3 separate regions of the Homo sapiens genome follow, and all the other regions are linked to region 3. The links are contacts of gene promoters, found by promoter capture Hi-C in blood cells and fetal thymus (Javierre and others, 2016). All regions are on one chromosome and are shown on one strand. Each heading gives the region's core, a stretch centred on a gene start or on the middle of the fragment in contact. The rest is flanking DNA. Distances are from core to core; before and after follow the strand shown. Region 1 holds the start of SLC4A5 (solute carrier family 4 member 5). Region 2 overlaps TET3 (tet methylcytosine dioxygenase 3). Region 3 holds the start of MTHFD2 (methylenetetrahydrofolate dehydrogenase (NADP+ dependent) 2, methenyltetrahydrofolate cyclohydrolase).

Region 1 (2,700 bases), core at 19-2,518, 140 kb after region 3:
CCAGTTGATTCTGGTTTGGGAAATGATAACACTGGAGAACACACTCTACTATCTGTTTCTTGTGACATCCTTTGTGCTAAAGTTATCTCCTTTGTTGGCATGGCCACCATCCCTACTTCTAGTGCAGTGGAGATGTATGAGTGTCTCCATTGCTAAGTGTTTAGTTACTCAAGATAAACTTGACTGGAGAGGGTGTGGGCAGGCATTCAGTCAAGCAACAAGCCACTCACTGAGTGCCACCAATGGTGTGGGAAAAGATGACTCTCCTTAGACTGGTCCATCCAAAATAAAGGAGGTGGGGAGAGCATACCTGGGTGGTCTTCAGGGTACTCCTGGAAACATCCATCAGCTCATGAGCTCACAGCTGAATTCCAAATCCTGGGATGCCTGCTTGGAGGGAGGGTAAAACACCATTTCTCAGGGACAGAAGCCCACAAAGCTAAGGGCACTGGGTTTCTAAGTCAGGATTTCATCACGGCTGGATGACCCTTTTTTAAGGAAAGCCAGCTGATCTCCAGGACTCCTGATACATAAGAGCTATGCAGTCTGTCACTTCTAGGGAGAGAGATGGGGACTAGCTCTGGTTCCTCATGCGTTCCTTCCCTCTCACTCCCTAAAGACCTCAAGAAACAGATCCTTGGTAACAATGCCTTCTTTGGGCCAGAAAGCTTAGTTGAAGTGTGGATTCTTATACAAGTCTCATGTTTTCTGGACTCCTAGGAGACTCAGAGGAGACACCATAGGTAACCCTTATTGAACTGGAAGAAGTGTGAAGTACTATCAACCACTGAGACTCCCATGGCTCAAGAATATGCACAGAGGTCTAACTAGATATAGGTCTCAGCCCCTGACTTTAGAAGTCTGACATTCCACAGATATGCACACACTACACGCTCCCCTCACAGAGGAAACTGGAGTAGGGGGACACAGCAGAACAAAATCGCAACACTACTACAGGAAAACCTCGTCATTCCGTTACTTGTCCTTTGCTATGTTGGAATACTTATAGATTAGTTTCAACAATCAGGTTACTCCTTATCTTTGCTCTAAGTCTTGTACAGGCCTTTAGCAAAAAGCAATAAAATTCTCATCTGACTCTTGGTGGGCTGGGGAATCTGCCTATTCTATTCAGTTGGTTCACTCACATCTCCAAACCAGAACCTACAACCACTCTGTAACTTTATTTATGTAAAATCCACTCTACTTACCCCAGTGCAGTGGCCTGTGGCTCCTGGGCCCTGACTCCAATTCCTTTAGGGTGGACCTTGCAGTTGGAACCATCCACCTCTCGTTTTTTCTATCTCTGCTATTAACATAGCCCCTCCTCTATTGCCTCACCAACTATTTTCAAACCAAAAAGTCTTTGTCTATTCATAGCCACTGTAAAAGTAACATTCATTTTTCTGTTTTTTAATCTAATGTCTGCGTCTTCAGTGGTTCTCACTGGCTAATCTAATCAGTGTGTTCTAGGGAGGTTTATTCCTTGCCTGTTCAGCTTGTCCCAGCACAACAAAGGTAAGTCATTTGCCTGGGGAGAATCAGCTCTTTTAAATCAGACAATCCTCAGGAAAGATGTCAGGACTTTTGCCTCTTTTCTTCATGGGACTGAGATTCAGGAGAACATTCCACATTCCACTGCCACACAGCTCTGCAAACCCCAAATCCTGACTCTCCGAAGAAGGATATGGGCAAGGAAAACAAAGAAGGCATTTGAAAAAACCAAACCTTGCAAGAAAAACTTTGCGTACTTGGTGATTTTTCCAGGTTTATCCTGACTTTTGGCCTCTGTTTTTATGAATTCCATTTTTGTTTAAGTGAAAAAGATACGGTGAGAGAGACATAGTGGAAAATGGGAAGTTTGGAGGAAGATGGGAAGGAAGAAGCCAGTGAGTAGGAAGTGAGAATCGGGAGTGGAGGGAGTGAGGGACGCGGTGCTGAGCGATGGGGAAGAGAAGCATGCCAGGAAGGCGCAGCGTCTCTGGGCACCCAGCATGGGGCCTGGTATATGCACACATTTCCCCTCATTGAACTCTCAACAGTCCAGTGGGGAGAGCATTCTCGTCCCCAACCTTACAGAGCTGGAACAGAAGCTCAGAGACTTACAGACAGGAAGAAAAGTAGGAGCTGGAAGCCCCATTAAAAAAGCAACTCTACCCCTCTTCTTCCAGTCTCTTCTGTGGCTTCTCTAAGGGTCTTCAGCCTCCTTATTTCAGGGTTGACCTTCTCTTTCAGATAGGAAATTTATCATCTGGTTGGATATCCTCACTTTCTTCCTAGATCACGTGGAGTTTTCCCTTAGTGGAAAAGCCTCATTCCTGGATCTAGAGCCTGCTGGTGGCAGACATGTAAAAAACATGTTTCGGAGGCCATGCCCAAGCCAACACATTAACCCAACATTATAGTTTCTGTTAATAATCCATGGAATCAAAGACAGGCAAGACTAGGGAGATCAACACATGCTGGGTCACCAGAGGCTTTCCTGGTTTTAGCACAGAAGATCTGTGACCCAGGAAACCCCTTAGTCCCAGGAAGATCAGCACAGCCTAGGCCAGAAACAGTTTCGGGCCTTAGGGAATTTCCAGCTGGTTGGGGATTCAACAAATTCAGAAGAGTGTGAGGCTCCAAAAAGAAGCACAAAGGGAGGGAAGGGTTCAGTGAAAGAAAAATCACCCTTGTTTGGAGGATTACCTTGTTCCACAA
Region 2 (2,700 bases), core at 93-2,592, 140 kb before region 3:
ACCATGCCTGGCCCTGTGTTATCTGTATGTATGTACATTTGTTATCTGCCCCGTCGTTCATTCTCATAGCTGTACAGCATTCCATTTTTTGAATACACCACAGTGTATCCAGTAGGTCACTGATGGTCTTTTGGGTTGTTTCCAACTTGGGGTTATTATGAATCATGCTGATATAAGACATTCTTATACCTGTCTCTTGGTGCATTTATGTATACATGTGTATACTTAGGTATTTACCTAGGACTGAAATTGTGTGTGTTGAGCTTTAGTAGGTACCATTGGTCTTTCAAAGTGGTTGTTACAGTTTAAGCTCCCACCAGCATTGCTCCACGTTCTCACCAGCAAATGGTGCCATCCAGTCTTTGCCATTGTGGTAGATGTATAATAGTATCTCACTGTGGGTTTAATTTGAATTTCCCTGATGCCTAATGAGGGTGAGCAGTTTTTCATATGCCGTCTTTTGTGGAGTTCCTGTTCAAGTCATTTCTGTTCAAGTTCCGGTTCAAGTCATTCAAGTTGCTGTTCAAGCCCATTTCTGTATTGTTTTTCTTATTGAGTGGTAAGGGTTCTTTATTTTGGATATATGGGTTCTTAGCTGGATACGTGTATTGCAGTTCTCAGAGTAGAGTATTGAGATTAAAAAGTTTGATCCAAGTTCGACTTACTTAAGTCACCATCCATATGTAAAGTCTTCATAAAAACATTTTTTTTTAAATTTATTATTATTTTTTTTTATTGATCATTCTTGGGTGTTTCTCGCAGAGGGGGATTTGGCAGGGTCATAGGACAATAGTGGAGGGAAGGTCAGCAGATAAACAAGTGAACAAAGGTCTCTGGTTTTCCTAGGCAGAGGACCCTGCGGCCTTCCGCAGTGTTTGTGTCCCTGGGTACTTGAGATTAGGGAGTGGTGATGACTCTTAGCGAGCATGCTGCCTTCAAGCATCTGTTTAACAAAGCACATCTTGCACCGCCCTTAATCCATTTAACCCTGAGTGGACATAGCACATGTTTCAGAGAGCACAGGGTTGGGGGTAAGGTCACAGATCAACAGGATAAGTATTTTTCTTAGTACAGAACAAAGTGAAAAGTCTCCCATGTCTACCTCTTTCTACACAGACACAGCAACCATCCGATTTCTCAATCTTTTCCCCACCTTTCCCCCCTTTCTATTCCACAAAACCGCCACTGTCATCATGGCCCGTTCTCAATGAGCTGTTGGGCACACCTCCCAGACGGGGTGGTGGCCGGGCAGAGGGGCTCCTCACTTCCCAGTAGGGGCGGCCGGGCAGAGGCGCCCCTCACCTACCGGACGGGGCGGCCGGCCGGGCGGGGGGCTGACCCCCCCCACTTCCCTCCCGGACGGGGCGGCCGGCCGGGCGGGGGGCTGACCCCCCCACCTCCCTCCCGGACGGGGTGGCTGGCCGGGCGGGGGGCTGACCCCCCCACTTCCCTCCCGGATGGGGCGGCTGGCCAGGCAGAGGGGCTCCTCACTTCCCAGTAGGGGCGGCCGGGCAGAGGCGCCCCTCACCTCCCGGACGGGGCGGCTGGCCGGGTGGGGGGCTGACCCCCCCACCTCCCTCCCGGACGGGGCGGCTGGCAGGGCGGGGGGCTGACCCCCCCACCTCCCTCCCGGACGGGGCGGCTGGCAGGGCGGGGGACTGACCCCCCCACCTCCTTCCCGGACGGGGCGGCTGGCTGGGCAGAGGGGCTCCTCACTTCCCAGTAGGGGCGGCCGGGCAGAGGCGCCCCTCACCTCCCGGACGGGGCGGCTGGCCGGGCGGGGGGCTGACCCCCCCCACCTCCCTCCCAGACGGGGTGGCTGTCAGGCAGAGACGCTCCTCACTTCCCAGACGGGGTGGCTGCCGGGCGGAGGGGCTCCTCACTTCTCAGACGGGGCAGCTGCCGGGCGGAGGGGCTCCTCACTTCTCAGACGGGGCGGCCGGGCAGAGACGCTCCTCACCTCCCAGACGGGGTCGCGGCCGGGTAGAGGCGCTCCTCACATCTCAGACGATGGGCGGCCGGGCAGAGACGCTCCTCACTTCCTACATGGGATGGCGGCCGGGAAGAGGCGCTCCTCACTTCCTAGATGGGATGGCGGCCGGGCAGAGATGCTCCTCACTTTCCAGACTGGGCAGCCAGGCAGAGGGGCTCCTCACGTCCCAGACAATGGGCGACCAGGCAGAGACGCTCCTCACTTCCCAGACGGGGTGGCGGCCGGGCAGAGGCTGCAGTCTCGGCACTTTGGGAGGCCAAGGCAGGTGGCTGGGAGGTGGAGGTTGTAGCGAGCCGAGAGCACGCCACTGCACTCCAGCCTGGGCACCATTGAGCACTGAGTGAACCAGACTCCGTCTGCAATCCCGGCACCTCGGGAGGCCGAGGCTGGCGGATCACTCGCGGTTAGGAGCTGGAGACCAGCCCGGCCAACACAGCGAAACCCCGTCTCCACCAAAAAAAATCCATAAAAACATTTTTAAATATGCAAGAACTCAAATTTTCTAGAGATGAATCAAAATAATAATAGATGGGGAAGTTGTAGTATGGAGAGGCTGGCGATGAACACTAAATCTGTTCAAATGTAAAGTCTAACTTTAAATGACAGTTATTTTTCTAAAACAAAAGATATTTACTTAAACTCTACTTAAGATATATTTTTATGTTAAACATCTTAACATGTAGCAGAGGGAAATATGTTCCTGAGGA
Region 3 (2,700 bases), core at 139-2,638:
ACTGGGTGGTGCTAACTTTGATCACGTGGTTGAAGCAGTAACTGTCATGTTTCTTCACTGTAAATTTACCATTTTCCTTTCCTTCCTGGAGGCTAGAAGTAAAGGTCAAGGTGTTGACAGGATTGGTTTCCCCTGTTCTTTGTTTGTTTGTTTTGTTTTTTGAGACAGAGTCTTTTTGTTGCCCAGGCTGAAGTGCAGTGGCACAGTCTCGGCTCCCTGCAACCTCTGCCTCCCAGATTCAAGCGATTCTCATGCCTCAGTCTCCCCAGTAGCTGGGATTACAGCGTCCGCCACGATGCTCAGATAATTTTTTGTGTTTTTAGTAGAGACGGGGGTTTCAACACATTGGCCAGGCTGGTCTCGAACTCCTGGCCTCAGGTGATCCGTCCGCCTTGGCCTCCCAAAGAGCTGGGGATTACAGAAGTGAGCCACCGCGCCCTGCCCTCCTTAAGTTTCCTTGCGGGAGAGATACTTTGAGACTATGCAAAAAGTTTGCGGGAAAAAATACAGGAAGCCCAGTTGAATCTGAATTCCAGATAAGCCATAAATAAAGTATAAATATGACCTCCCAAAGTGTTTATCTAAAATTCTGATTTGATTGGGCATCTTGTGTTTTTATTTGCTAGATCTGGCAACCCTATATGTAAATATCTTGCTCCTCATCCAACTTTCACCCAGTTGTTTTGACATCTATTGCTGCTTCTGAATCAGGGTTGCACATGCAACCCTGACGTCTGTCTCTGAATATCTTTTATGATTTTACTTTTTTTGTTGTTGTTTTGAGATATGGTCTCACTCTCGTCGCCCAGGCTGGAGTGCAGTGGCGCGCCTTCAGCTCACTGCAGCCTCAACCTCCTGAACTCAGGTGATCCTTCCACCTCAGCCTCCCCAGTAGCTGGTACTGTAGTCACGCGCCACCATGTACTGATTTTGGAAAATGGTGATTTTCTAACTCCATCATTCCTTTTACTTCTGTTCGTTGGCATTCTATCAGCTTGTCTTTTCATCCACCCTTTACAGTGCTTGGCACACAGTAGGCGCTCATATAATTGTTCAACGAATGAATGAATGAACTTTTCTCTTGTGTTGTCCGGCCTTCGGTGACACTAGCGGCGTCAGGCAGGAGTTTGACTTCCTCAGCCTATCATGGCACGTTGCCGAGGCTTCAGCGCCTTACAGGACCTCGCTCCAGGCTCTTCTGGCTCCAATCAAAAGCAGGGCTCTTTCGGACTTCGCTTACGTTTAATAAAGAAAACCGGTTGGCCCCTTCGGCTCCACCTGGCTCAACAGACAGCCAGTGGCATGCGGCAGGGACCAATGGGTGGCGGAGGGAGGCGGGGCCTGCCACGAGGCCGCAGTATAACCGCGTGGCCCGCGCGCGCGCTTCCCTCCCGGCGCAGTCACCGGCGCGGTCTATGGCTGCGACTTCTCTAATGTCTGCTTTGGCTGCCCGGCTGCTGCAGCCCGCGCACAGCTGCTCCCTTCGCCTTCGCCCTTTCCACCTCGCGGCAGTTCGGTAAGAGGGTCACAGAGCTCGGTCAGCGCGGAAAGCTGAGGGGAACGGAGGGCGAGGGGCACGCCGGGCCCCCGAGGGACACCGAGGGAAGTCCTTCCCGAACATCTCCGCCCCGGCGGTGGTGGCCGCTGAGGGGTGTGGCGGGGCGACGTGGCACCGAGCGCCGCCGCAGCTCTCGACTGGGGCGCTTCCTCGGCGCGGAGGGCTGGTACCCGAAGCCCGCCTTTCGGAGGGAGCCGCTCTCCTGCGACTCGGGGCGTCGCCGGGGCCCGTGGCCAGTCGGCGGGCGGGACGGGGGTGGCGTGCGGAACGCGAAGGCATCAGTTTACGCGGAGCCTTCCGACAGCGCCGGCCGCCTCTGGCTGGGATGCTGAGAGTCGTCTGGGGGAGAACAGGCGAGGGTTCCAAAAGAGCAGCCCTCGGCGAGTTGTCCTTGCGGGGACCCTAGCGGCGGAGGGCGCTGCTGCAGCTGATGAAATCGCGGAGCCGACTTGCTCGGGGTCCCCGCGCCGCCCTCCTCCCTCCGCCGGTGGGAGTGGCCCGCGCTGCCTCCGCTCTGCCAGGAACATGAACGGACTCTGGGCACCCTAGCTTTGGCTGCAGCCCACCAGAGCCTGTCAGTGCCGGGCTGCGTACATAGAGGTGGCAAACATCCGGGAGGCTCCCAGGGCCTTAGGGAAAGGGGGAATGGAGAGTGACAAGTACCCATATTTCAGCGGTACTTGCAGAATTTCAGTTTTACAAGATGAAGAGTTCTGAAGATGGATGGTGGTGATGGTTGCACAACATATGAACGTATTTAATACCACTGAACTGCACTTAAAAATGGTTAAGATGGGCCGGGCGTGGTGACACGCGCCGAGGCTGAGGCACGAGAATCGCTTGAGCCCAGGAGTTCGAGGCTGCAGTGAGCCGTGATTGCACCACTGCCCTCCAGTCTGGGCGACAGAGCGAGACCCTGTCTCAAAAAAAAAAAAAAAAAAAAAAGTTGATAAGGTTTATGTTATGTGAATTTTACCACAATAACAAAATTGGGAAAAATATACAGGGGAGGAGGAAAGGAAAAGCTCTGTTTGCATTTTTGGGTTTCCTTGGGAAGGTGATTTGGTCGGTCATTAGAGCGCTGGCATTGTTGGCATTGTTAGAGCCCTGCACCTTACAACATCAGCCCCTTCTTTTTTTCA

Evidence for each region. The method cuts DNA at HindIII sites, captures the fragments that hold promoters and counts their contacts. A CHiCAGO score of 5 or more calls a contact.
Region 1: the fragment with the promoter of SLC4A5 here is called in contact with the fragment with the promoter of MTHFD2 in region 3 in 1 of 17 cell types (naive CD4 T cells); the score reaches 6.0 in naive CD4 T cells.
Region 2: a contact is called between a fragment that was not itself captured here and the fragment with the promoter of MTHFD2 in region 3, in 1 of 17 cell types (activated CD4 T cells). The highest score is 5.4, in activated CD4 T cells.

What each region holds. Positions count from the first base shown.
Region 1 is chr2:74,342,148-74,344,847 of GRCh38, forward strand. SLC4A5 (solute carrier family 4 member 5) reads right to left here and starts at 1,269. Exons shown (of 31, transcript NM_133478.3): 1 at 1,209-1,269; 2 at 311-387. The HindIII fragment of the contact is 2,074 bases long and covers 667-2,700 here.
Region 2 is chr2:74,059,810-74,062,509 of GRCh38, forward strand. All of the region lies in intron 4 of TET3 (tet methylcytosine dioxygenase 3), which reads left to right. Among named protein-coding and RNA genes, the nearest start is that of TET3, 76 kb to the left of the region's middle. The HindIII fragment of the contact is 6,470 bases long and covers 1-2,700 here.
Region 3 is chr2:74,197,227-74,199,926 of GRCh38, forward strand. It overlaps MTHFD2 (methylenetetrahydrofolate dehydrogenase (NADP+ dependent) 2, methenyltetrahydrofolate cyclohydrolase), which reads left to right and starts at 1,389. Exons shown (of 8, transcript NM_006636.4): 1 at 1,389-1,516. The coding sequence starts at 1,416. RefSeq lists an enhancer at 1,051-1,609 and silencers at 1,318-1,457, 1,648-1,927, 2,058-2,147. The HindIII fragment of the contact is 3,357 bases long and covers 1-2,700 here.